6 separate regions of the Homo sapiens genome follow, and regions 1, 2, 3, 4 and 5 are each linked to region 6. Evidence: promoter capture Hi-C in 16 types of primary human blood cells and fetal thymus (Javierre and others, 2016). All regions are on one chromosome and are shown on one strand. The core of a region is centred on a gene start or on the middle of the fragment in contact, and the rest is flanking DNA. Distances in the headings are between cores, read along the strand shown. Region 1 overlaps NAE1 (NEDD8 activating enzyme E1 subunit 1). Region 2 overlaps DYNC1LI2 (dynein cytoplasmic 1 light intermediate chain 2). Region 3 overlaps CMTM4 (CKLF like MARVEL transmembrane domain containing 4). Region 4 overlaps CMTM4 (CKLF like MARVEL transmembrane domain containing 4). Region 5 overlaps CMTM4 (CKLF like MARVEL transmembrane domain containing 4). Region 6 holds the start of CDH5 (cadherin 5).

Region 1 (4,656 bases), core at 1,123-3,622, 440 kb after region 6:
AGTATGTATAGTTATCTCCATTTATAGAAGAGAAAACTAAAGCACAGAGAGATTAAGTTACTTAGCTCATAAGTGATGCTGTATGACTTCCAAAGCTAGGTCATAAAAAGCCCTGTACCTTCCACTTGGGTTTTTTGGAATGTTAACTGCAGAAGCCAACTGACATGCCAAAAGGAAGTCCAAGCTAGCCACGTGAAGAGATACCTGACCAGCCGCCAGCTATTCCCACTGTTCTGACTAAGGTGCTAGTTACATGAGTAAAAATGTCTTCTTGCATGTCTAACTCAGTCAGTCAAGCCTTCAGAATGACTCCACCCCCAGGCTCAAGCAACTGCATGCCTCCCCAAGGAGAACTGCCTGAGACCAGGCAACCCACAAAATCACGACACTATTTATTGTTTTAAACCACTAAGTTTTGAAGTGGTTTGTTATGCAACAGATAACTGAAATAAATACTAATCAAATAATACAAATAAAGCAATACATATTTGGTGTTTATTCTTTTTTTTTCTTCTAGTAAGCTTGCTTGTTAGGACTATAAACTCTGGGCAGCGCAGTGGCTCATGCGTGTAATCCCTGCACTTTGGGAGGCCAACACAGGAGGATCACTTGAGGTCAGGAGTTCGAGACCAGCCTGGCCAACACGGAGAAACCCTGTTTCTACTAAAAATACAAAAATTAGCTGGGCGAGGTGGCGGGCGCCTATAGTCCCAGCTACTCGGGAGGCTGAGGCAGGAAAACTGCTTAAACCCAGGAGGCGGAGGTTGCAGTGAGCTGAGATCACGCCACTGCACTCCAGCCTGGGCGACAGAGCGAGACTCCGTCTCAAAAGAAAAAAAAAAAAGACTATAAACTCTGGAGACACACTGTATCAGATGGAGCAGCAGGTTTTATGATACCCCTAGAATGTGTTGCTATGCAATAATCCTGCACAATTAAAATTATCATCCCAAAGAAAAATATTCTGAGCAACCTCAGATCTTTGAGATTATGCCAATTCTCCAATGACTACATTTGCTGAAGATAAAAAGTAGATAACTAAACAAAGAAATTCCTACATCTTCAGAGTTATTGAGTTCAGAAATTAGTAGCATACTTTTTTTTTTTTTTGAGACAGTCTCACCACAGTCACCCAGGCTGGAGTTTAGTGGCACAATCACAACTCACTGTAGCCCCAACTTCCCAGGCTCAGGTGATCCTCCCGAGTAGCTGAGTCTACAAGTGCACACCACCATGTCTGGCTAATTTTTTGTATCTTCAGTAGAGATGGGGTTCCACCATGTTGCCCACGCTGGTCTCCAACTCCTGGGCTCAAGCAATCTGCCTGAATCAGTCTCCCAAAGTGCTGGCATTACAGACGTGAGCCACCGTACTATGCCTGGCCAGCATATTTCTTGTGGCTTTCCTATTCCACTAAATTAAACTCAGTGTGAGTCTTAGTAACAAACTATGGAAAATGACAGAAAAAAGTTTTCTTCTATACATATTCAACCAACATCCCCCTGTAATAGTTTAGAATCGAACACTATTTTGCAAATAGTTAAACTTAAAAAACAAAAGGTGGTTCTTCACTGGGGAACGTTTGGGGTGTAATCTGTTTACAATGTGAAATTCAAGCAACACTATTATAAATACCCTGAGAACACTTTCAATTTAAATGTTTTATTGAAGATCTTATTATATCTGGTAATTCAATTGCTATTCTTACCTGGATATCTACCCTGTTGTTTATGAAATCTATCAACAGCCCGTAACATTAAGTACAACACTATTTCATTATCTGGATTGTCCATGCTAGAAACTGAAAGGAAAAAAAATTTCAGTTTAATTTGGTTAATTTGCAATGTAACAAACAATGAAGGGCTGAATTTACTATATACTTGAGTTTCAGGACTATTAACTGGAGTCACACAATCTCTACTGAAGTAGTAACATACTGACTTTAACTCATACATATCACACAATGGACTCAGTGACCTAAATATGACTTTATGCATACATTAAGTTTCATATAATATATAAATTATAATTACCTAGATAAGCTTAGAATAAAATTAGAATATGTTTACGTTATCTTTAATATCATCACCATATACTCAACACTATTATACACAAAATATTTATATCTTTTAAATTAATTAAAATTAACCCAGAATCAGAAGGCTATTATACTTACTAATTTCATCCTTGTTAATTGTATCCAAACCATATTCTTCAGCTAAGGATCGACATCTTACCACTCGAAGAAATGCAGAATTGCTGCCTGAACAGAGGAAAGATATTCTGGAAGTAATGACTGTGACTGGTGAATATTATGAATCACAGGTGACTTTAAGAACAGAGAATTATGTGTATACCCTTCTCAGACATGAGAATGTGAAGAAATGTTTTCTCCTTGGTTCTAATAGCAGAGAAAGCACTAGAACATGAATCACCTTAAATTTATATCCCTGGCACTACAACCAGTTCAGAAGCAAGTAAGGTGATGGCCTCTCTGAACCTCAGTTTTCAAGTGTAAAATGGGGATGATACTGTTTACCTTTGAGAATTGTTCTACAGATTAAATGTGACATCTGTATAAAGTGCATCTCTAGCACAATGCCTGATATGGCTCTAAAAATAATAGTTTTCATCATTATTATGGATAAGTAGTCCTAAAGGAGAGAGGTTTATGAATTGTACTCTTGATATATGTAATGACTTTAAGCTTTGTATTATTGAAATTTTCAAAAACGCCCCAAAGTAGAACAGAATAATAAATGTTCAAATACCCAGCATCAAACTTGTGATCTAGTATTATATAATCTAATACAACAAACGCTAATTCAAGATTAGTCTAATAGAACAAACAAGGTGCAAGATTAGTAGTGGCAGAAAACATTAAAACCGAGCCTAAACAGACATTGTGGAGAAGTCATAAAATGGAAAGCTTGGATAAATCTATTTTAAGGATGGGGAGCATGCAAAATATAAACTTCCACAGGACGTAGGAGCAGTAGCTACAGGGAGAAATCTTCAGATGGCATGCACAACAGATTGGGTATTTTGAAACTGACTCTTAAATAAAAGAAAATGCTTTTGGCCTACTGAGGAGTTACTGAGAAGACTCCTACGAACCTAACCACTCCGAAACTAGATGGCAAAATTCTTAACTCCATTACAGTCATTTAACACAGATCAAAATGAGTATTTAAACCAATATTGTCAATGTACATGTGACTCAAGACTTCACACCCAAAGTCTTCAGACAAAAAAACTTCCTAAATTACTTAAAATTTAAAAACTGAAAATCCTGTATTAATGGCAATTTTCAATTAACTGACCGTCAAGCCTTTTTAGCATTGCCACAGATAAACATGTTCTACCTCTGATTCAGTCTTAAAATACTCGCCATGTATTGTATTATGAGAGGAAAAAAAAAACCTTACCCAATAATTATCTATATCTATATCACTGAGGCCATGGAAAACTTAAAATTTCAACCATTCAAAATACCTGGGAACATTCCCTGTGGCACATTTCTATCAAGCAAAATAAGGAAATTAATTCAAGGGGACTTACAGAGTAATTTTAATTCTTTCTCTGAAATGGACTCTGGTGCCTGTAAAGAGATAAATACAGATTCTGTTCCAGTTTAAAAGAGAAGATTAACAAAGGGTGCGGCACAAAGCCAATCACTGTGAGATGGGAAGGCTTTCTCCAAGAGCTGGGAGAGCACTTTAAAAATATCTTGTTTCCTTATCACAAGCTATCCCATTAGGCAGGGAAATGACAGCTCCCTCTAAAGAAGCACAGAGGCAGTGCCACACCCTCTGTCTCTAAACCCTTTCTGGCTGGAGTTACGTGCTGAGGCCTGTATGGGCACAGTGTGCCCAGTAGCTTACCTGGCCAATGGACTGCAGCAATTTGGCAACATGATTACCCACAGCGGCAGCATCTTTCTTTGCTTTTTCACGGTAACTAAAAAAGAATAAAAAGCAATTACTAACAAATTTTTAAATTAGCAAAATTTAAATTGTTACCATGAACAAAAATTTTCTTTCCTTTTCATGAAAAAACACAGGTCTGACAATGTATGAAATGTGAAAATGCCAGGGAAATGCTATCAACAGCACCATGAGTAGCTGGGAATCTTTCCAGTGTTAGTGACGGACTCTCAGTGCCCACTAAAACCCAGGGTCCCTCTAACAGCACCCAACTTAAAAACTGCTCCCCTAGAGGGATCTATGATTTCGGCTTCTGTGACAGAGGACCTGAAAAAATACATTACTGAAGAACATGACTTATCTCCTGGAAGTCAAGTCCAAGGAAAGTTAAATACATTAAAACTGTTCATCTCCAATGTAAAACTTCTTTGTTTTTTGAGACAGGATCTCGCTCTGCCACCCAGGCTGGAGTACAGTGGCGCAGTCCTGGCTCACTGCAGCCTCAACTTCCCACGCTCAACTGATCCTCCCACCTCAGCTTCCCAAGTAGCTGGGAATTCAGGCACACGCTACCATGCCCGACTAATTTTTGTCTTTTTTGTAGAGACGGAGTTTCACCATGTTGCCCAGGCTGGTCTTGAACTCCTGGGTTCAAGTGATTTAGAAACTGAAAATACTGTATTAATGACAATTTTCAATTAACTGACCTTCATACCTTTTTAGCATTGCC
Region 2 (4,688 bases), core at 1,026-3,525, 370 kb after region 6:
CATCTCAGCTCACTGCAACCTCAGCCTCCCAGCTCAAGCAATTCTCCTGCCTCAGCCCCCGAGTAGCTGGGATGACAGGCACCTGCCACCACGCCTGGCTAATTTTTCTATTTTAGTAGAGACAGGGTTTCACCATGTCGGCCAGGCTGGTCTTGAACTCCTGACCTCAAATGATCCACCCACCTGAGCCTCCCAAAGTGCTGGGATTACATGAGCCACCATGTCTGGCATGACTGAACTTAATTTCTATTCCTACCTCATCATTCTAATTTTCCACCATCAGTTTGGACCACATCAGCTGATTTAAATAGCCTTAAGGAAACTGCTGTGAGTTCTTTTTTTTTTATTTTTATTTTTTGAGACGGAGTCTCGCTCTATCGCTCAGGCTGGAGTGCAATGGCATGATCTCGGCTCACTGCAAGCTCCACCTCCTGGGTTAATGCCATTCTCCTACCTCAGCCTCCCAAGTAGCTGGGACTACAGGTGCCCGCCACCACGGCTGTCTAATTTTTTGTATTTTTTGTAGAGACGGGGTTTCACCATGTTAGCTAGGATGGTCTCCATCTACTGACCTCATGATCCGCCCACCTCAGCCTCCCAAAGTGCTGAGATTACAGGCGTGAGCCACCGCAACTGGCCAACTGCTGTGAGTTCTAAGTTTGAAAGTCAACAGTGCTTCAGAGACATTAACCCTAGGCCATGAGCAAACTGACTAGTCATGTTTCCTGCATTTAAACTTCCAATTTACATGATAATTTTTTCTGTCTTGACATATTCAATGTACCTTAATGAATCTCAAATAAGCCCAAGTCTCCCTTGGGAAAAAAACGTCAACAGTTTCTCAAACTTTCAGATGGTGACTGTTCACCACCCGAACCCAGCCAAGCCAACAACCCCCTGGCACACACCTTTGTGCACACCACCAACACCGGGATCCCCAGGTTATGAGTCAGCACATTGTCACCCAGAGGCAGGGCAACATTTTCTTCATCGGAGCCTGAGGTCAGAGGGCCTCTTCTCTGTGGGGAACCTTGACAACCTTCTTCAGGTTCCATATAGTCTTGAAAATCTTTCACAACTGGGGGAAAAAGAGGAAAAAAAATCACATGCACATAAATAAAAATACATGTTAGCTTTAGAACACTGAAAAGAAGGCAATAATAAGCACAAAACACAGGCAGTTGTGTGTGACAAACTTCTTAGTCACATCCAACTGCAAAATCAAGGATTTGGGGATGGTGATACAAAATGCCAATTCTGAAATATTCAGTGTGAGCTTTGTAACATCGGGGCAGCAAAGACATTCCCCTGGGCATCTTTAATTGCACCAAACCCCTGAACAGGTTTTTTTTTCTTCTTTTTTGAGACAAAGTCTTGCTCTCTTGCCCAGGCTGAAGTGCAGCAGTCTGATATCACCATCTTCTGAGCTCAAGTGATCTTCCCACTTCAGCTTCCCAAGTAGCTGGGACTAAAGGCATGTGCCACCATGCCCAGCTACTTTTTAAATTTTTGTAGAGGTGGGATCTTCCTGTGTTGCCAGGCTGGTCTCAAACTCTTGGGCTGCAGAGATCCTGCTACCTCGGCTTTCCAAAGTGCTGGGATTATGGGATTACAGTCTTGAGCCACCATGTCTGGCCCTTAAACAGGTTTTTAAAAAATACTAAGGTTTCAATAGTTCTTACCATGAAGAAAGCCACTTTTCTTATGTATCTTACATTTTCAGAATACCAGAAGAGTTGAACTGTGTAACTTCAACATAGCTGACCATTAGAAACAGCTATAACTTACAATACTTATCACAGTCCTCATTAGAAATGCCTAATGAGCTGGGCACAGTGGCTCATGCCAGTAATCTCATCACTTTGGGAGGCCAGGGCGGGTGGTTCACCTGAGGTCAGGAGTTTGAGACCAGCCTGGCCAACATGGCAAAACCCCATCTGTACTAAAAATGCAAAAATTAGCTAAGGATGGTGGTGCACCTGTAGTCCCAGCTACTTGGGGACTCGTGCTAAGGCATGAGAATCGCCTAAACCTGGGAGGTGGAGGTTGCAGTGAGCTAAGATTGCGTCACTGTACTCCAGTCTGGGCAACAGAGTGAGACTATACCTCAAAAAACAAAACAAAACAAAAAACAAAAACAAACAAAAAACAACAAGCTTCCACCCTGGCCAACATGGTGAAACCCTGTCTCTGCTAAAAATACAAAAATTAGCTGGGTGTGGCAGCACGTGCCTGTAATCCCAGCTACTTGGGAGGCTGAGGCGGGAGACTCAGTTGAACCAGGGAGTCGGAGGTTGCAGTAAGACAGAGCGAGACTCCGTCTCAAAAAAAAAAAAAAAAAAAATGCTTAATGAAACAATTGAATTTTATAAGAACATGCTGTTTCCACACAGCTGAAGCTTGTCAGCACTAAGTAACCAGGCTGGTCTTGCCCAGCACCAGATGTATTTCCTTATTATCCTCACTCTTGTGGACTCAGTCTCATCTTTTGGGGATCCCAAGTCACTTGTGCAGTGTTCACGGCCTATTCCTGCCTAACACAAGAAAGGGTCAGTGGTACAACATCCACTTATTGGCATACAATATTCACTAATCCAGCTAAGGAAGGCCATTAAGGTGACAATGGTCCGAGCCTCAGTTAAGCCAAGTGACCACAAAGCCCACAGCTCTGCACCTTTATGTGGGCACTTCAAGGCTCTCATGTTGGTCCAGAGAACAAAAAATGCAACAGTTAAAGCTACCTTGAGCCAGAGAAGAAAACAGGCAGCTCTACCCTTCTAAGTCCAGTAAGACTGAAGGATCAAAGGCCTTTTACTCTCACCAACATGCTAAGTAAATTCAAACAACAGGACTGAAGAGGACCTAGAGAAAGGTCCTACCTGCTCCTCTTCACCCACAGAACACGTTTCAAACATTTCAAACCACGAGTTTTTATTTACAAAGATTTGACGTTACTATTATATGAGCTTCTGAAATTATCTGAGAGCTCTCTGTCTTTCATGTAACAGTGAGCAAACTGAAAACTAACTGATTAGGCCCTAAAGTGCAGATGTGATATTTCATCTCTACAGCTTCTTTTTTTTTTTTTTTTTTTTTTTTTGTGATGGAGTTTCGCTCTGTTGCCGAGGCTGGAGTGCAGTGGCACAATCTCGGCTCACTGCATCCTCCACCTGCCGGGTTTAAGTAATTCTCTGCCTCAGCCTCCTGAGTAGCTGGGATTACAGGCACCTACCACCATGCCCGGCTAATTTTGTTTTGTATTTTTAGTAGAGACAGGGTTTCACCATCTTGGCCAGGCTGATCTTGAACTCCTGACCTTGTGATCCACCCACCTCAGTCTCCCAAAGTGCTGGGATTACAGGCGTGAGCCACAGCACCCGGCCTACAGCATCTCTTTAATTAAGCTCATTCATATACCTTCACTGTCAGGCTAAACGCGATGGCTTATGTCTGTAATCCCAGAACTGTGGCAGGCCAAGGCGGGTGGATCATGAGGTCAGGAATTCAAGACCAGCCTGGCCAACATGGTGAAACCTTGTCTCTACTAAAAATACAAAAATTAGCCAGGCATGGTGGCGGGCACCTGTAATCCCAGCTACTTGGGAGGCTGAGGCAGGAGAATCACTTGAACCCAGGAGGTGGAGGTTGCAGTGAGCCGAAATCGTGCCATTGCACTCTAGGCTGGGTGACAGTGAGACTCTGTTTCAAAAAAAAACAAACACACACACACACACACACACACACACACACACACACACACACACACACAAATACTTCACTGTTAATACAAATAATCTAGTCAAGTAAACCATACTCCATTTTGGATAAAAACAGAGAAGAACTCCTCCATGTGGTTGTTGAAGGGTCTTTAAAGGAATCAAATATTCTCACATTTTTCTCTTTAAAAGCACTTTTAACAAATCTTCAAATCAATAAAATATACAATGGCTTAACTGGGCAAGATCTAATGCCCGAAGATCTCGTGAGGCACTCAACTAGGGCTTCCCAGACAGTGAGAAGCACAGAGCCTGGAAGGGCTCACAGGTAAGCTAAGCTACGGTTGGAAGGTGGAGGCAGGAAGTTCAGACAGCTGGCTCCACGAACCTCCACCCCATTACCTCGTGCACTGTAAACTTTTCTGCTGTTTTTTACCTGTGCCATGAGGAGAAAATAGTTCAGAAGCCCTAGATTATTCACGCTCTAAAGGAATGACTTAATTGTGGCTGCCCAACAATAGGAAATTCACATTTTTAAATAACTTAGCATTTTATTTTATTTATTTAATTGTTTTTGAGATAGAGTCTTGGCTCTGTTGCCCAGGCTGCGGGGCAGTGGCACAATCATGGCTCACTGCAGCCTCGACCTGCTGGGCTCAATCAATTTGTCTGCCTCCGAGTAGCCAGGACTACAGGCATGTACCACCATGACTGGCTAAATTTTTTTAGAGACAGGGTTTCGCCATGTTGCCCAGGCTGGTGTCAAACTTTTGGTCTCAACCAATTGGCCCACTTCAGCTTCCCAAAGTGCTGGGGTTACAAGCATTGAGCCACTGCGCCTGGCCAACTTAGCATTTTAGAAAGCAATTTGGAAAGCAGAGCAAATATACATAACATGAGTGAAAAGGCAGTATTAAAAAGAGGAAGGACCATGTAAGTTGGATAGTAAAACGTGCATTTTTTCTTGGGTAT
Region 3 (4,309 bases), core at 425-2,924, 280 kb after region 6:
AGCACCAGAGAGTGGCAGGATCTCCTTTGGGTCTTAAAAGGGCCACCAGCTACTTTGCGGAGAACAGACTACAGTGAGGACAAGGGCAGAAGCCAGGAGGAGAGTGACAAGACCCTTGCAACAATGAATAGGGCTGACCTATTACCTTGCAGAAATGACTTCACAGGTGTGTGACTGCACAGGCTCAGTCAGAAAAGTTAGCATGGTTCCTGCCTTGCTCTCTCTTAGACCACTCATGATGGGGAAAAACCAGCTGCCATGTCTTGAGGGTACTCAAGCAGCCCTATGGAGAGGTATAGGTGCCAAGAACTAAAGCCTCCTGCCAACAGCCATGTTGAACAAGCCGTCTTAGACATAGGTCCTCCAGCCCCAGGCAAGCCTTCAGATGACATAGCCCTAGCCAAAAGCTTGACTGCAACCTCCTGAGAGAACCAGAGCAAAGCCACCCCCCAAATTCCTGACACACAGAAATGAAAAGAAAAGAAAGATCTGATTCTTGTTTGTTTGCTTTTTTAAGACAGGGTCTTCCTCTGTCACCCAGGGGGTGCAGTGATGCAATCATAGCTCACTGCAACCTTGAACTCCTAGACTCAAGTGACCCTCCTACCTCAAACTTTCGAGTAGCTGGAACTACAGGGGCACACCACCATGCCCAGATAATTCTTTATTTTGTAGAGACAGGGTCTCACACAGGCTGGTCTCAAACTCCTGGCCTCAAGAGATCCTCCCGCCTCAGCCTCCCAAAGCACTGGGATTACTGGTCTCAGCCACTGTGGCCCGCCTAAGATGTCTTGTTTTAAGTCACAAAGTTTTAAGGTAATTAGTTATGCAGCAATAAATAATATATCAGGGAGGGAAAACTCTTGTTGTTATAAAACATTAATATTCTACTCATTACTCATTGATTACAGGTACATACAAATCAAACACCTTATAGGCACTTCTTGTTTTTTATCATTTAGTTCCCCAGTACAACCTTATGAGGTAGATATTAGCCCCATTTTACAGATAAGGAAATTAAGGTTCTGTGACATATAGATAGCAAGAAGCGGTGCCAGGATGTAATAGCCAAGATTTGATTCTCAGTCTCTCCAGTTCTTACTGCCCCACTATGTTATTTCCCTATTAGCTTCTCACCCATAAAATTATACCTGCCTCCTTTCCAAATCTCAAATGGTCACTGTGTTCAAAATCCAAACAAAAATATATGTAAAAGGGCTCTACAAATGACAAAATGCTATATACAAAATAAGAAAATAACATGTTATAACCTACACCTATTTAAACCATAAAATACCTATTATATATCTTATTTTCCAGCCCACTTTTTCTGCTAAATAGTGTTTCCACAGGTATGTCCACATATAGATGTTACTTTTAATAATTACATGTATTCATATGTAATTACATAGACAGATACATAAATACACACATATACACCTCTATACACAACCACAATTTAATTGATCCCCTATTGATAGGCATTTAGATGGTTTCTAATACTCTGCTGTTACAAGCAAAACATTTTTTTGTCTGACATTGGACACAGCAAAATGTCAACATTTTCTCTAGCACAGTGAAATCTAATCACTGCTGAAATAAAAACTACCTATTGACCAAGAAGGGCTCAGATAAAGTGATACTAGAAGCCAACAACTTCAAGGGAACCAAAGAGTCAAAAATAGTTCAACTTATAACAACCTTGAAGTGAGCAAATGTCACGTGAACAAATTATACAGAGATGTCCAAAAAGATGTATATAAGAAAAAACTTTTTTGTTTACTAATCATGCGATTATGGATGCCCTTGGAGAGAGTCCTTTCCAGGTGGCAACTACAAACTGACCAGAGTAAATATTTTAATATTTGATAAGTAAACTGGGCCAGGTACAGTGGCTCACACCTGTAATCCCAGCACTTTGGGAGGCCAAGGGAGTTGGATCACTTGAGGCCAGGAATTCCAGACCAGCCTGACCAACACAGTGAAACCCCTGTCTCTACTAAAAATACAAAAAATTAGCTGGGTGTGGTGGCACATGCCTGTAATCCCAGCTAGGCAGGAGGCTGAGGCATGAAAATCACTTGAACCCTGGAGGTAGAGTTTGCAATGAGCCGAGATCGCGCCACTGCACTCCAGCCTGGGTGACGAAGGGAGACTTCATCACCAAAACAAACAAACGAACAAACAAAACCAGAATTGATATTAACAGGTTGTCAGATTTCCACAACTGTGGCAAATTATGATTGGCAGCATCTAAAAGCAGGAAGAGAAGGAAAGAGAGAGGACTGGCTGATGAAGTTACCATAATAGTCATCCTTCCACTCTAACTTTCTGTCACAGCTTCTTGTGCCAGGCAATAATGAAATAGCAATTTTTGGTTTTGTTTCGTTTGTTGCCAGAGTCTCTGTCGCCCAGGCTGGAATGCAGTGGTGAGATCTTGGCAAGTGCAACCTCTGCTTCCCGGGTTCAAGTGATTGTCCTGCTTCAGCCTCCTGAGTAGCTGGGATTACAGGCACCTGCCACCAAGGCCGGCTAATTTTTGTACTTTTAGTAGAGACAGGGTTTCGTCATGTTGGTCAGGCTGGTCTCAAACTCCTGACCTCAAGTGATCCACCCACCTCAGCCCTGCAAAGTACTGGGATTACAGGCATGAGCCACTGCACCCAGCCACAGTGGGCATTTTTGGCATTCAGCTAACTGGAAGTTGAGTGAGGGATACATTAAATTTGGGTTTAGCTGCCGGTTCCACGTGTGGTTAAGCTACCGTAGCACTCCCAGTGGAGGAATGGCTTTCACATATGCTCTGACACCACTGCACAGGCTCATCTGACATTATGACAATGGAACAGACCCCAAACTTCATGAGATAAACTGTCCTATGATGACCAACTAGAAATATGTGGGTAGTAGAGGAGAAATAGGGTTTGAAACATACGGAGCCAGAAGCTTGTCTGTGGGAAATTCTTCAGATCATCAAATGCATAAAATTGTAAGTACAGAATTCTATTGTCATCAGTGCCTAAATGAGAGTTGTGTCTTATCAGGAAAATACTCAGTAATGTAGTGTATGCAACTATAAATGCACTAAACGTTTTCTCCCTTTTTTGATGGGAGCCACATGAAATAGAATTTATCAGAATTCCAGGGTGTGTAGGGCACAAAACTGTGGCAGTACTATAAACAGCAAGTACTTCTTATTTTTATTATTATTATTATTTTGATATGGAGTTTCGCTCTTGCAGCCCAGGCTGGAGTGCAATGGCATGATCTCGGCTCACCGCAACCTCTGCCTTCCGGGTTCAAGCGATTCTCCTGTCTCAGCCTCCCAAGTAGCTGGGATTACAGGTGCCCACCACCACACCCAGCTAGTTTTTGTATTTTTAGTAGAGACGGGGTTTCATCATGTTGGCCAGGCTGGTCTCAAACTCCTGACCCCAGGTGATCCACCCACCTTGGCCTCCCAAAGTGCTAGGATTACAGGTGTGAGCCACCGCCCCCGGCCAACAGCCAAGTACTTCTGTGCAGGAGTTTGGAGTTTTATGTCTCCCAATGTACCAGATCGCATCTTGATACAGCTGATGAATTTTAAATTGACAAAGTCTGACAATCCCAAATAAAATGGCACACAAAATTGCTTCCAACTCACTGAAACAGCATGAAGAAACAAGTGTTCAGTGACAAACTCCTACACATGTTCATCAATAAACCAGTGAATGGGGCCTCAGAACATATTGACCGTATAATGACATGACGTTGCTCGAAACAATGTAGTGGCAACCTAAAATCTGAACTGCACTTGTGTACACCGAAATGTCAGGTAGACTTTGTATACTTTTTCAGAATTACTGATCATACTGAAGTTCAAATCTACGAAGGATCTATTGCAGTGGAGGCCAAAACAAAAACAGAAAGAAAATGCTTTTTAAATTTGTAATTTATTGTTTCCTGTTGGATGTCAAAAGAAGGCCCCCCCTTTGTCATTTAGTGTGTTTCTTATTTTAAAACAATATTCACTATTGTACCTGTCTTGTGTTTTTGTCTTTCTTTTTCCAAAATCATGAGTCTTAAGCTCCTCAAAACCTGTACCTACTGCTAGGTTTGGACAATGAGGTGTGAGTGGGGTAGACCCCTGTCGTGACCCTTGGCAGCAGCCTTTTGGAACTACAGACAGTTCCACCATGCTCCTTCCCTGCCACAGCAGCCTGCAATGTTCCAGACCCAGGGCGGGGGAGGGGAATGACCAATAAACACATCAACAGATGCTCAACTTCACTTCCAACAAGAGAAATGCAAACTGAGGTACCCTTTT
Region 4 (4,340 bases), core at 1,367-3,866, 310 kb after region 6:
TTAATAAAATACTTTACATTTGTATGAGTCATGATTTTATCTTTAAAAAATTATTCTTTGGCCAGGAGCAGTGGCTCACGACTGTAATCCCAGCACTTTGAGAGGCTGAGGTGGATCACTTGAGTCCAGGAGTTCAAGACCAGCCTGGGCAACATGGCGAAACCCCATCTCTACAAAATGTACAAAAATTAGGCATGGTGGTGCACGCCTGTGGTCCCAGCTACTTGGGGGGCTGAGGTGGGAGGATCACTTGAGCCCAGGAGACAGAGGTTGCAGTATGTCAAGATCATGCCACTGCGCTCCAGCCTGGGTGACAGAGCAAGACTCCATCTAAAAAAAAAAAAAAAATTATCCTTTAATATCTACAAACAAGTTAAAGTCCAAAACAAGTGCCAATACTCTGTATTCGCTGTTCTAAGAAGTAAAGAAAAAAATTCTAGGTCAATAATTCATCCAACCCCAAACACTTTGAAGTCTGCTGGCAAGAAGGATGACAATCAAGTCTCAATTTTCACTTCTTTACCCCGCTCCATGGGAAAAGATGGCTTCCAGCTTCCTCATCACTTTTACTGGTTCTGATTTTAGCAATTCTTAAATTTTATCAATAATCCAAGGAGAAAGAAGAACTGAGGGCCCCCCTTCTCCCCTGACTCTGAGAGATGTGACCCCTGAATTATGCAAAAAGGGTTCTCTTGAGGCTGGAGACCCCCCCAGGAGCAGAGCCAGCAGAGGGGAAAACAGAAACGGACCAAGTCAATGTAAGATGGGACTGATGAGGCCGGGCATGGTGGCTCATGCCTGTAATCCCAGCAGTTAGGGAGGCCGAGGTGGGCAGATCACTAGAGGTCAGGAGTTCGAGACCAGCCTGGCCAACATGGTGAAACCCTGTCTCTACTAAAAATATAAAAATCAGCCGGGCGTGGTGCTGGGTGCCTGTAATCCCAGCTACTCGGGAGACTGAGGCAAGAGAAACGCTTGAACCTGGGAGGTGGAAGTTTCAGTGAACTGAGATCACACCACTGCACTCCAGCCTGGGTGACAGTGCGAGACTCTATGTCAAAAAAAAAAAAAAAAAAAAGATGAGACCGATGAGTGATGCTGGAGCAATGCTCACAATCCGCCTAATGGTTACAGAAACAAACTCACACGGGGGCTCTGGCCTTGGAAGGTAGACTGCACAGCTCCCCACCAGCTAGCCAGTTATTGACCCCAATAGGCTTCTGTTTCTGCATCTGTAAAATGGCAACATTAACAGTGCCTGCCTGATAAGCTTGCCATGAACGTTAAATGAGGTAACACAAATAAAACACTTAGCAATCTGGCACATAGCAATGCACACTTCAGTGCTACCTTTAGTATCATTTATTGATTGAGAAATGAATTTAATGTACTGTAAACTAAAAGCAAGAAATATAATAAATCATAACTGCCGGCCAGGCACAGTGGCTCATGCCTATAATCTCAGCACTTTGGGAGGCCAAGGCGTATGGATCACTTGAGGCCAGGAGTTCCAGACCAGCCTCACCAACATGGTAAAACCCTGTCTCTACTAAAAATACAAAAATTGGCCAGGTGTGGTGGTGGGTGCCTGTAATCCCAGCTACTCGGGAGGCTGAGGCCCGAGAATTGCTTGAACCCAGGAGGCAGAGGCTGCAGTGAGCCGAGATCACACCACTGCACTCCAGCCTGGGTGACAGAGTGAGACTCCATCTCAAAAAAAAAAAAAAGGTCGGGCATGGTGGCTCATGCCTGTAATCCCAGCGCTTCGGGAGGCCAAGGCGGGCAGATCACGAGGTCAGGAGATCGAGACCATCATGGCTAACGCGGTGAAACCCCGTCTCTACTAAAAATACAAAATATTAGCCAGGCGTGGTGGCGGGCACCTGTAGTCCCAGCTGCTCGGAAGGCTGAGGCAGGAGAATGGCATGAACCTGGGAGGCAGAGCTTGCAGTGAGCCGAGATCGTGCCACTGCACTCCAGCCTGGGCAACAGAGCAAGACTCCGTCTCAAAAAAAAAAAAAAAAAAAAAAAAAAACCATAATGGCCACCTCCACCTCTTAACTCTCTCTCATTTAGTTATGTCCTTTCCATCTCCACTGCCAAAAGACCAGTTAGTTAAGCCTTCTTTTCTCACTGGATCTACTCAAAGTCTCTGACCAGGTCCTGCTGCAATAATCTCACCCTTCTCAAAGCCATTGCACACACCTTCTAACCTAGAAATATCCAACAGAAATACGTAAGCCACACATGCAACTGAAAATTTTCTAATAGCCATATTTTAAAACGTAAAAAAGTAGAATTTGGATAGTATATTTTATGCAATCCAATATATCCAAAATATTGACCAGACACAGTGGCTCACACCTGCAATCCTAGTACTTTGGGAGGCTGAGGCAGAAGGATCACTTGAGGCCAGGAGTTCCAGACCAGCCTGGGCAACACAGTGAGACCCTGTCTCTATAAAGGAAAAACAAATGAAAAATATTACTTCAATATATAATCAGTATAAAATTATTAATGATAGTTGACATGCTTTTTTTCCTATTAAATCTTTTTTTTTTTCTTTTTTGAGACCGAGTCTTGCTCTGTTGCCCAGGCTGGAGTGCAGTGGCCTGATCTTGGCTCACTGCAAGCTCCACCTCCCGGGTTCATGCCATTCTCCTGCCTCAGCCTCCCAAGTAGCTGGGACTACAGGCACCCGCCACCACGCCCAGCTAATTTTTTTGTATTTTTAGTAGAGATGTTAGCCAGGATGGTATTGATCTCCTGACCTTGGGATCCACCCGTCTTGGCCTCCCAAAGTGCTGGGATTACAGACGTGAGCCACCGCGCCCAGCCTTCCCTATTAAATCTTTAAAATCCAGGGTGTATTTTGTATTTATGCATATCTCAATTCGTACCAGCCACATTTCAAGCGCTCAATAGCCACAGTTATAACTGTTCCCCATCTCTTTTAGAAAAATCCAATTTCATCAGGCTAACAAATCGGCCCCTCACCAGCCTGGGTCCCCCTCATCTTGCCCCATTTGTCAAATCACTTGCCCTTCCCTTCCATACCTTTGCCTGGTGAACCACACTTGACTCACCTCTTACCACGCCTTTCTGGGCTGGACCCTAGCACCTGGGATATTCCTTTGCCACAGGCACACCCTCCTTATTCCAGGCATTGGCCATTCAGCATCTTACAGCAATGTGCCCCTTTCCCAAATGGCCACAAGTGCTTCCTGCCAAGCCCACTATCGCCAGGCCTCTATCACAGCCCCTGGCTCAGGTGGTCCAATGGTTTGTGTACTTTTGTCTGCCCCACTCCAAACCCTTACTCCCAAGAGCTCTGGGAGCTCTTTGGAGGCAGAGATTTTTGTCTTATTTCTAATAGTACCTGGCCCACCCTAGGCACTCAAATGTATATAAAGTATGGATTTTTTAAAAAGGGGTGAATGATAGCATTTTTACTGACATCTAGTTACTGATCTTGATTTAACTTTCAAGTTATTTAGCCAACACTTAATCTCAAGTTATACACATTTCTAGGGCTTGGCCTGAAAATGGGTGAAAGAAAGTAGACAAGCTGAGGAAGCAACTACCCCTGGAAGAGCCATTGTTTCTGGGTTGTTTTTCTTTTTTTTTTTCCACTGGCACAAAAATCTTTTAGCCTTAAACTGTTTTTCACAGTGGTGCTGGAATAAATGGGAAACCACAAAAATGAAGGCTTCCACTGCACCAGTCATCAAATCGCAGTGGCAGTAAAGAAAACATCCAGAACTATCCACACTTGATTAAACTTTGAACATTTTAAGTGTTTATTAACTCATTTAATTCTCAAACTTAACCATTCATTTGAAATTGTCAACAACAAAATGCTGGCTTAACAGTATTTCCCATAGCCTTCTCTAGCCTTCACTGAAGATCGCCAGCCTCCCTTTGCAGGCCTCATGGAACGGTTGTTCTTTTATTTTAATCAGAAAGCTTTAAAAAAAAAATCACTATGACCCTCAGCTTCAATGCCAGTTGTGACTTTTTCTTTGCCTGAAAAGTGTCTCTTGAAAGATACTTGCTTGACAGATACAAGCCTCTCTCTTTCTGAATGTGTTAATCAGAAAGCAGACAACTTCAATAATAATTACAGAATCCTGGTTTTCATTTTACACTTTTCTAGGCAAAAAGATTGGCAAAGCCTCTTATGGTTTCCCCAACTTTTACAAAAATCTGTCTCCTAAGCAAAATCTTCTGTTTCCTAGTAGCAGTAGATAGTCTACTTAAAGTTAAAAAAAGAAAAAGTAATTACGATGGCATTTTATTTCCATAGTTTCTCTCCAATATTTTCCACCTCAAATAGAGTC
Region 5 (4,145 bases), core at 1,411-3,910, 290 kb after region 6:
CCAACCCCATCCCACAGTCAAGCTATATAGAGTAACCAGGTTACAGGAAACAGAGAAGTTGAAGGAGCATGTTAAAATCACACTAGAGGCTGGGCGTGGTGGCTCACACCTGTAATCCCAGCACTTTGGGAAGCTGAGGCAGGCGGATCACTTGAGGTCAGGAGTTTGAGACCAGCCTGGCCAATATTGCGTTGTCACTACTAAAAATACAAAAATTAGCTGGGCATGGTGGTGTGCACCTGTAGTCCCAGCTACTTGGGAGGCTGAGGCACAAGAATCACTTGAACCTCAGAGGCGGAGGTTGCAGTGAGCCGAGATCGTGCCACTGCACTCCAGCCTGGGCGACAGAGTGAGACTCTGCCTCAAAAAAAAAAAAAAATCACACTAGAGAAAGCCACCAGTCAAGGCCAAAATGGGAAATCTATATAACAAATTACCCCATTTCATCAGCAAACAAATGACATAAAGGGAGATGAGGGCTGTTGTAAGATTAAGAGAGACTTCAGACACAGCAAGCAAATGCAATCACGTATGGATCTTGTTTAGATCCTAATTCAAACAAACCAAAAGGGCATTTTGGAGATCACTGGGGAAAAGTGAACATAGGATAGTCAATGACATTAAGGAATAATTATGTTATTTTGAAGTAATATTGATATTGTGGATGTGTCATTTAAAATAAAGTTCGTAACTGATAGAGATGCATACTTCATATTTATAGTTGAAATGCTATGATATTGAAGACTTGTTTTAAAATATTACAACAAAAAAGGAGGGGAGCGTTGATTAAACAAAAATGCAAAATGGTGATAACTGTAAAAGCTGGATAAAAAGTATGTGGGCACTTGTACTATTATCTTTACTAGTGTATGTCTGAAAGTTTCCATAATAAAAATTTAAATTTTTTAAAAATGTTGAAGAACTTATATCCAGAACATACAAAAAACTCAAATCTCCACAATAAGAAACAACCCAATTAAAAAGTGGGTAAAAGATATGAGCACATCACAAAAGAAGATATATAGATGGCAAACAAGCACATGAAAAGATCCTTAACATCACTAGCTATTAGGAAAATGCAAATTAAAACTACAAGGCAGAGCACGGTGGCTCATGCCTGTAATCCCAGCACTTTGGGAGGCTAAGGCAGGAGGATCACTTGAGCCCAGGAGTTGGAGACCAGCCCGGGCAATCTAGTGAGACTCCATCTCTACAAAAAAAGAAAAAATTAGCCAGGCGTGGTGGCACATGTCTGTGGTCTCAGCCTCTTGGAAGGCAGAGGTAGGAGGATTGCTTGAGCCTGGGAGGTACAGGCTGCAGTGAGCCCTGATTATGCCACTGCACTCCAGCCTGGACAATAGGGTGAGATCCTGTCTCAAAAAAAAAAAAAAAAAAACAAAACTCCACCATAAAAGGTGAAATTTATTGCATGTAAATTAAAAAGAAAAATTTTCAATGTTGTAAAGTCTATTGATAAGGAGAAGCAGCATAGAACAGTCATGTTACAAAGCAATCTGTACTTGTAAATATATGCACACAGACATATGTGAACAAATACGGAGACAGTGTTACACACAATGTGACTAGTGTTCATCTCTGATGAGTAAGATACTAGGACATGTGTTTTTTTCTTTTAACTTAGAGGTATTTTCTAATTTTTCTTAAATTGGTATTACTTGTGTGATTTCTTTAAGAAGTAATTTAAAAACAAGCAAATAAAAAAATAACTGCAAGCTGCTCTGGGAAGCCTTTCCTCATCCCTCCACAATAAACCTCTCCCTCTGCAGGCTTCCTGCTGTCTCCTCAAATCTCCTAACACTTGGCTGCCCTGTCCCCATAGTCAGCTCTTCCCTCTCCTGCTCGCTGTGCTAAGTGAGGAAGTGCAGTTTACCGCACGGTGGGGCCTGTCTCCGGAATCGCGTCTAGCTGGCTCCCTGCTCTATCCCTCCCGAACAGACACTCAGGAAAATAGCTGAGTAATGACTGACCAACAGGGCATGAACAGGCATCTACGAAACAGTCATTAAACCATGTCCACAGGCAACTGGACACTATCCAAAGGTTGATAATTAATGTTCCATGTCAGCCTAAAACATGGGCTCAGGTGAAGGGCCACTTAAGTTTCTAGAAATTATTTGGGAGAAAACATACAAAGCTGGTTTATCACTTGCCACATCTGTGAATAAGAGACTTCAGATTGCTAATATGTAAGGTAATAAGCTTCAAAATTATCCCAACATCAGCCAGACTGGTGCTGCGGATGGACTGTAACCCGTATAAATTTCAGGTTCAAAGATTCAGCTACAGGAATATAGAGTAGGGAGAACAGACTTGATAAAAGCAGCCAAGTGAAAACAGACCTGGTGATTTTAGCTGACATCAGTCACACTGAGGCTAAACGCTTGTCAGTTAAGGATGAAGTAAAAGACTGTCATTTTTAGTGGGAAGTAGAGCTAAGCAGTCCCAAATCTTTTCTATAATGCTCTGTTTTCATATTCACAGGCAGAAAAGTCTGTTCGCTAATATGAAAAGATAGTAACATTAAGTCCAAATTTTATTAAAATGGATCCTTTTATATGATTCCTTGCACATGCCAGGAATATCCCAGAGTAATACTTAAAACATTTCCTTACTATAGGCCGGGCACGGTGGCTCACATCTGTAATCCCAGCACTTTGGGAGGCCAAGGTGGGTGGATCACCTGAGGTCAGAAGTTCAAGACCAGCCTGGCCAACACGGTGAAACCCCCATCTCTACTAAAACAACAAAAAAATTAGCCGGGCATAGTGGTGCATGCCTGTAATTCCAGCTACTCAGGAGGCTGAGGCAGGAGAATTGCGTGAACTCGGGAGGCAGACACTGCAGTGAGCTGAGATCGCACCACTGCACTCCAGCCTGGGCAACAGAGCAAGACTCTGTCTCAAAAAAATAAAATAAAATAAAAATAAAACATTTCCTTACTACAAAAACAAAACAAACAAAAAACCAAAACACCATGCCACCGTGATTCATCTCTACACAAGCCAGGGCCCCAGCAGCCTGCAAGCCAGGAGCCTATTTGGCTATCAGACAATAAAAACAGACAACAAAAACAAATTAGAAAGCTTCCAAGTATCATAAATTTGGAATTCCAGTTCCAGTTAATGAAGTAGGTACACTCCAGCCTGTCTGTCCCACTGAATGCTGCTATCAAACTGGAAACAATGCACAGAGCAGCTATTTCAGGACACTGAAAAACAAATCAAAGTAGGCAGATGGTGAAGATGCCCAGAGTTCAAAGCACCACAGAACCAACAGTCAGGCTCCTATTTTTCCTCCAGTGTTCCCCAGCTTAGACTCTAAGGAGCCTCAAACCCAGAAAAACCCAGAAAAGAGAGCCTGGTATAGATAGGGAGTCCAGGACAATCCTCTAGTTCTGGCCAGAAAAGTAGACAGGGGGATTTTCCTAACACTCATAGACATTGAACACAATCCTGGGTTTTATTTTCCTTTTAACTTTTTTTTTCCTTCATTCTCACTTAGATTTCAGACCCCAGACAACCCTGAAGTGTCAGAGGCAATGCAGCAGCAGGAGGCTACAGATGTCCACAACAGAGGAGTCGACTCAGAGGAACCCGAGTTCTTAGGGCATGAGCGAACCCCCTTGCTTTCCCCTTCCCCTGTCCTCCCACCATGTGGCCTAGGACATGGACACAGCTGTGGAAACTGTTCAACAGAGTAGGGTAACTAAAGAACCAGCTTTTGGGACACAGACCCGAAAGAGGAGTTCTAAGGGCTGGAAAATACCAAGGAACTGGCAGAAAGAGGAAGCAAACCCATAAAGTTCTATAAACTCCTGTTTATAAATCAAAACACCAAGCCCATAAAGCTTATAAACTCCTGAGCTCACCCAAAGTTGTATATATATGTGTATCTGACCCTAAACAGTGCAGTAAAGACGTTGAGAATGAACTATGGGATAGCTCACCACCTAGGTCCCAGACTGACCACTGGGTGGCATATACCGAGCAAAGATTCAAATAGCATCACAAAGGCTTTGAAACAGAATTGATATTGAACCTTCAACCCACAGAAGACTGACCAGAACTTCTCACTTGAACCCAGCCAGGTTGATTGCTTTCGAAAACAAAACAAAAATCAACATT
Region 6 (4,299 bases), core at 1,726-4,225:
ACACGTTTCCTGGGGAGCTACAAACACATAAGTCCTGGGATTCTATCACCAGCCATTCTGACCCCATCAGCCTGGAGTGGGGCCCAAGAAATCTGCATATTCACTCCCCCTCTCCCAGGATGGATGGCTTGAAGACCACACTTTGAGAAACAGCCACTCGATAAGGCTTGCTGGTCCTGTCATTTATTTTCATTGTCTCATTTCATCTTCCAAACGGCCTGCAAAGTCTGAACAGATAACTCATTTCACAGGTGAGGAAAGAAGCTCAGAGAGGCAAGTCGGCTGCCCAGGTCATGCAGGCAGCAACGGGTCATGCTAGGATCCAAACCTGGGTCTGCAACCCCCACACCTGTACCTCCCCAAGCAGCGCTCCCTGTCGGGTCAGGCTTCCTCCTGGCAGAGGCCAGGTGGGCGTCCCCAGGCCTTGTCGTCCCACCCGCCATCCCACCCCCACTGCCTCCACTGTTGCTTCCTCCTCTGCTACTAATCTGGTCTCACAGACCATCCCATTTCCTGCTAGCCCACCAGCCGCCTTCCTTGCTCCCAATGACACTTCCTGGCCTTGTGCCCTCCTGTTACCTCCTTTGCCTCCAGAGAGGTTGGAGCAGAGGCTGGGCAGTGCCAGAAATCAGGCATGAAATCCTCAGGGGGACCAAGGAGGCACCAGCCTCCCTCCCACAGTCTCAGCTACCTCTGCTACGGTGACCCCCAGCCCCACCCCTGGGGCCCACAGCTCATGCCTGGCTCACCATTCCTTTGTTTATGGACCACAGGAACAGTCGTTTTCAGGGCAGAGTCAACTTCCTCATGGACTGGGAGTACAAAGGGAATTGGCAGATGGTGCCAGGACAGGCCCTGTCCCCATCTGCCACAGCCCCGAGTCTGAGACCCAGCAGGAAGCAATGCACAGGCCAGTGTATCCCCATGGGCACGTAGACCATGAGGACAGGCGGGGGTGAGGGGGATGTGGACTGGAACACAGGGGACAGAGCACTGTCCTGGCTCCTCTGCGGCCAACCCCCCCTCTGGGCAGGAGAAAGCAGAGTTAATCCCATTGGAGAAGGAAGCGCTGAGCTGTTGTTTGTTCATTCCACAATCGGCTGTTGAATGTGTTGGATCCCACTCAGAATTCCGCCCCAAGGACTGTTCTCCTTCCAGCAGGTCGCTCCTCAGTCTCCAGCATCATCTGTCTTCCCGTCTGCTGGATGCTCCCTGGGGACATGAGCGTGCTGCCATAGTTAAAAAAAAAAAAAAAAAAAAAAAAAAAAAACCCTCCCACTTCTCTGCTCCCATTCACTGTAAGACTTGGGGAAGAAGCTACAGTCACACGTGACTCCACATCCCCGTCCCCCTTTCTCCCCTTTCTCTAGCCCCTCCAATCTGTCTTGTCTACCTTTTCCTGTTTAACCTGTTCTGGTCACAGTCATTGATGACCTCATCTTCCAAATCCAAAGTTAAGTCTCAGCCCTCATGCTCCCCAGGCTGACCCACTGACTACTCCCCTGCCCTCCTCCTCTGCCCTCTCCTGGCATTCCTCCTTCATCATGGGACCCTCTTCTAATGGATCCCCAAATGTCAGAGGGTCCAAGTCCTCCCTCCCTCCAAGCTCATCCATGCCCATGGCCTCAGATGCCAGCCATAAGCTGTTGGGTTCCAAACCTCGACTCCAGGCTGGACTCACCCCTGTCTCCCCCACCAGCCTGACACCTCCACCTGGGTATCTAACGAGCATCTCAAACTCAACCTGCCTGAGACAGAGGAATCACTATCCCCTCCTCCTCCAAAAATATCCTTCCATCACACTCCCCATCTTGTGCTCTGATTTACTAAACGGCCCTGGGCCCTCTCTTTCTCAGGGTCTCTGCTTGCCCAGCTATATAATAAAACAAGTTTGGGACTTCCCAACCATTCACCCATGGAAAAACAGAAGCAACTCTTCAAAGGACAGATTCCCAGGATCTGCCCTGGGAGATTCCAAATCAGTTGATCTGGGGTGAGCCCAGTCCTCTGTAGTTTTTAGAAGCTCCTCCTATGTCTCTCCTGGTCAGCAGAATCTTGGCCCCTCCCTTCCCCCCAGCCTCTTGGTTCTTCTGGGCTCTGATCCAGCCTCAGCGTCACTGTCTTCCACGCCCCTCTTTGATTCTCGTTTATGTCAAAAGCCTTGTGAGGATGAGGCTGTGATTATCCCCATTTTACAGATGAGGAAACTGTGGCTCCAGGATGACACAACTGGCCAGAGGTCACATCAGAAGCAGAGCTGGGTCACTTGACTCCACCCAATATCCCTAAATGCAAACATCCCCTACAGACCGAGGCTGGCACCTTAGAGCTGGAGTCCATGCCCGCTCTGACCAGGAGAAGCCAACCTGGTCCTCCAGAGCCAAGAGCTTCTGTCCCTTTCCCATCTCCTGAAGCCTCCCTGTCACCTTTAAAGTCCATTCCCACAAAGACATCATGGGATCACCACAGAAAATCAAGCTCTGGGGCTAGGCTGACCCCAGCTAGATTTTTGGCTCTTTTATACCCCAGCTGGGTGGACAAGCACCTTAAACCCGCTGAGCCTCAGCTTCCCGGGCTATAAAATGGGGGTGATGACACCTGCCTGTAGCATTCCAAGGAGGGTTAAATGTGATGCTGCAGCCAAGGGTCCCCACAGCCAGGCTCTTTGCAGGTGCTGGGTTCAGAGTCCCAGAGCTGAGGCCGGGAGTAGGGGTTCAAGTGGGGTGCCCCAGGCAGGGTCCAGTGCCAGCCCTCTGTGGAGACAGCCATCCGGGGCCGAGGCAGCCGCCCACCGCAGGGCCTGCCTATCTGCAGCCAGCCCAGCCCTCACAAAGGAACAATAACAGGAAACCATCCCAGGGGGAAGTGGGCCAGGGCCAGCTGGAAAACCTGAAGGGGAGGCAGCCAGGCCTCCCTCGCCAGCGGGGTGTGGCTCCCCTCCAAAGACGGTCGGCTGACAGGCTCCACAGAGCTCCACTCACGCTCAGCCCTGGACGGACAGGCAGTCCAACGGAACAGAAACATCCCTCAGCCCACAGGCACGGTGAGTGGGGGCTCCCACACTCCCCTCCACCCCAAACCCGCCACCCTGCGCCCAAGATGGGAGGGTCCTCAGCTTCCCCATCTGTAGAATGGGCATCGTCCCACTCCCATGACAGAGAGGCTCCTCGAGGGCACGCTGGGCCTCCTCGTGGCTCAGAGCAGGGTCGGGGAAGGTGCACCCAGAGGTAGTGCCAAGGGCACAAATGGGCATCTCGGGGCTGAGGGGGGCAGGGCAAGGGCTTGGCTCTCCCAGAAGTGTATTCTCCAACTCAAAAAGGCCCACTGGCCTTCATCAGTGCCAGGCTCAGAGAGGGCAGTATTCTGCCCCAGTTGCCCAGCATGCCGGGGCAGAGGACTGGCACCCAGGCCTTGGCCTCCCCTCGGTGCCTTACCCTTACTGGAGAGGATTTACCAAGGCCTGACACCAGCCTCCTCAGCCCCCTACCCATACGCCACTAAAGCTCTATGCTGGGATCTGGGGAGGGGCCCTGAAAAGGAAGCTCCGAGCCTTGGCCCCTCTCGGTCAGCCAGTGCCCCCATTTCAGGATAGGCAAGCTGAGGCTTGGCTCTGGGCACTTGAGGTCTTGCCTTTCCCTCTGGGCCTTTCCCTGCCCAAACACCATCGGGGCCCACTATGTGTCAAGGGAGCTGTAGTCTGGACAGCGGTCCACCATTCCTCCCACCAGCACCCTTTCAAAGGCTAGAGCATAAGAGCCCCAAGGCCCCCACAGCCCAGGAAGTCCCCCAGAAGCAGGAGGTCTGGGCCAAGAGCCTGGCCTGGAGACAGCTGCCCTGGGTACAGATCCCAGCTCTCCCATTTGCTCTGGGGTGACCTTGGGAAAGTTACCCAGAGTTTCCAAACCACAGTGGGGAACAAGGGATGGTGTGGGGCTCATTATTTTACCATTAACAACTCCACAAGGTAGATACATTCTTTCTTTATATCTCAGTGAAAGCAACTGAGCTTTGGAAACATATGAGCTGGTGTGGGGATTTGAACCAGGATCTCGTACTCCAAAGCCCCAGCTCTCCCCAGGTCTCAAGTGTCTCATCTGTGAAATGGGGAAACAGTGTTTCCTCAGTCAATTGAGTGAAGTGAGCTACATCCCTGGTGCTGGGAATGGCACATAACATGAGATCTTTAAGGAATAGTGGCTGGATTTACCAGCTAGCACAGAGCCGATCCTGGTTGTGAATGTGATAAAGATTTTGGCCCTTGAGGTATGGTCAAACCCCATCACGGAGGGGTCCTCAGGT

What was found. The method cuts DNA at HindIII sites, captures the fragments that hold promoters and counts their contacts. A CHiCAGO score of 5 or more calls a contact.
Region 1: a contact is called between a fragment that was not itself captured here and the fragment with the promoter of CDH5 in region 6, in 1 of 17 cell types (non-activated CD4 T cells). The highest score is 6.1, in non-activated CD4 T cells.
Region 2: a contact is called between a fragment that was not itself captured here and the fragment with the promoter of CDH5 in region 6, in 1 of 17 cell types (naive B cells). The highest score is 6.3, in naive B cells.
Region 3: a contact is called between a fragment that was not itself captured here and the fragment with the promoter of CDH5 in region 6, in 1 of 17 cell types (non-activated CD4 T cells). The highest score is 5.3, in non-activated CD4 T cells.
Region 4: a fragment that was not itself captured here is called in contact with the fragment with the promoter of CDH5 in region 6 in 2 of 17 cell types (naive B cells and total CD4 T cells); the score reaches 5.6 in naive B cells.
Region 5: a contact is called between a fragment that was not itself captured here and the fragment with the promoter of CDH5 in region 6, in 2 of 17 cell types (total B cells and naive CD8 T cells). The highest score is 5.8, in total B cells.

What each region holds. Positions count from the first base shown.
Region 1 is chr16:66,806,813-66,811,468 of GRCh38, forward strand. It overlaps NAE1 (NEDD8 activating enzyme E1 subunit 1), which reads right to left. Exons shown (of 20, transcript NM_003905.4): 14 at 3,885-3,960; 15 at 3,562-3,601; 16 at 2,177-2,263; 17 at 1,709-1,801. Among named protein-coding and RNA genes, the nearest start is that of TERB1, 7.6 kb to the left of the region's middle. The HindIII fragment of the contact is 665 bases long and covers 2,041-2,705 here.
Region 2 is chr16:66,735,167-66,739,854 of GRCh38, forward strand. DYNC1LI2 (dynein cytoplasmic 1 light intermediate chain 2) reads right to left here. Exons shown (of 13, transcript NM_006141.3): 5 at 909-1,078. Among named protein-coding and RNA genes, the nearest start is that of DYNC1LI2, 14 kb to the right of the region's middle. The HindIII fragment of the contact is 243 bases long and covers 2,155-2,397 here.
Region 3 is chr16:66,640,552-66,644,860 of GRCh38, forward strand. The region is part of intron 1 of CMTM4 (CKLF like MARVEL transmembrane domain containing 4); the gene reads right to left. Among named protein-coding and RNA genes, the nearest start is that of CMTM3, 38 kb to the left of the region's middle. RefSeq lists a silencer at 3,181-3,359. The HindIII fragment of the contact is 2,539 bases long and covers 406-2,944 here.
Region 4 is chr16:66,678,766-66,683,105 of GRCh38, forward strand. All of the region lies in intron 1 of CMTM4 (CKLF like MARVEL transmembrane domain containing 4), which reads right to left. Among named protein-coding and RNA genes, the nearest start is that of CMTM4, 16 kb to the right of the region's middle. The HindIII fragment of the contact is 2,696 bases long and covers 1,269-3,964 here.
Region 5 is chr16:66,659,011-66,663,155 of GRCh38, forward strand. The region is part of intron 1 of CMTM4 (CKLF like MARVEL transmembrane domain containing 4); the gene reads right to left. Among named protein-coding and RNA genes, the nearest start is that of CMTM4, 36 kb to the right of the region's middle. The HindIII fragment of the contact is 884 bases long and covers 2,219-3,102 here.
Region 6 is chr16:66,363,716-66,368,014 of GRCh38, forward strand. It overlaps CDH5 (cadherin 5), which reads left to right and starts at 2,976. Exons shown (of 12, transcript NM_001795.5): 1 at 2,976-3,043. It overlaps LOC105371318 (a long non-coding RNA gene), which reads right to left. Exons shown (of 3, transcript XR_933687.3): 3 at 465-1,212. RefSeq lists enhancers at 2,869-3,418, 4,229-4,299. The HindIII fragment of the contact is 26,652 bases long and covers 1-4,299 here.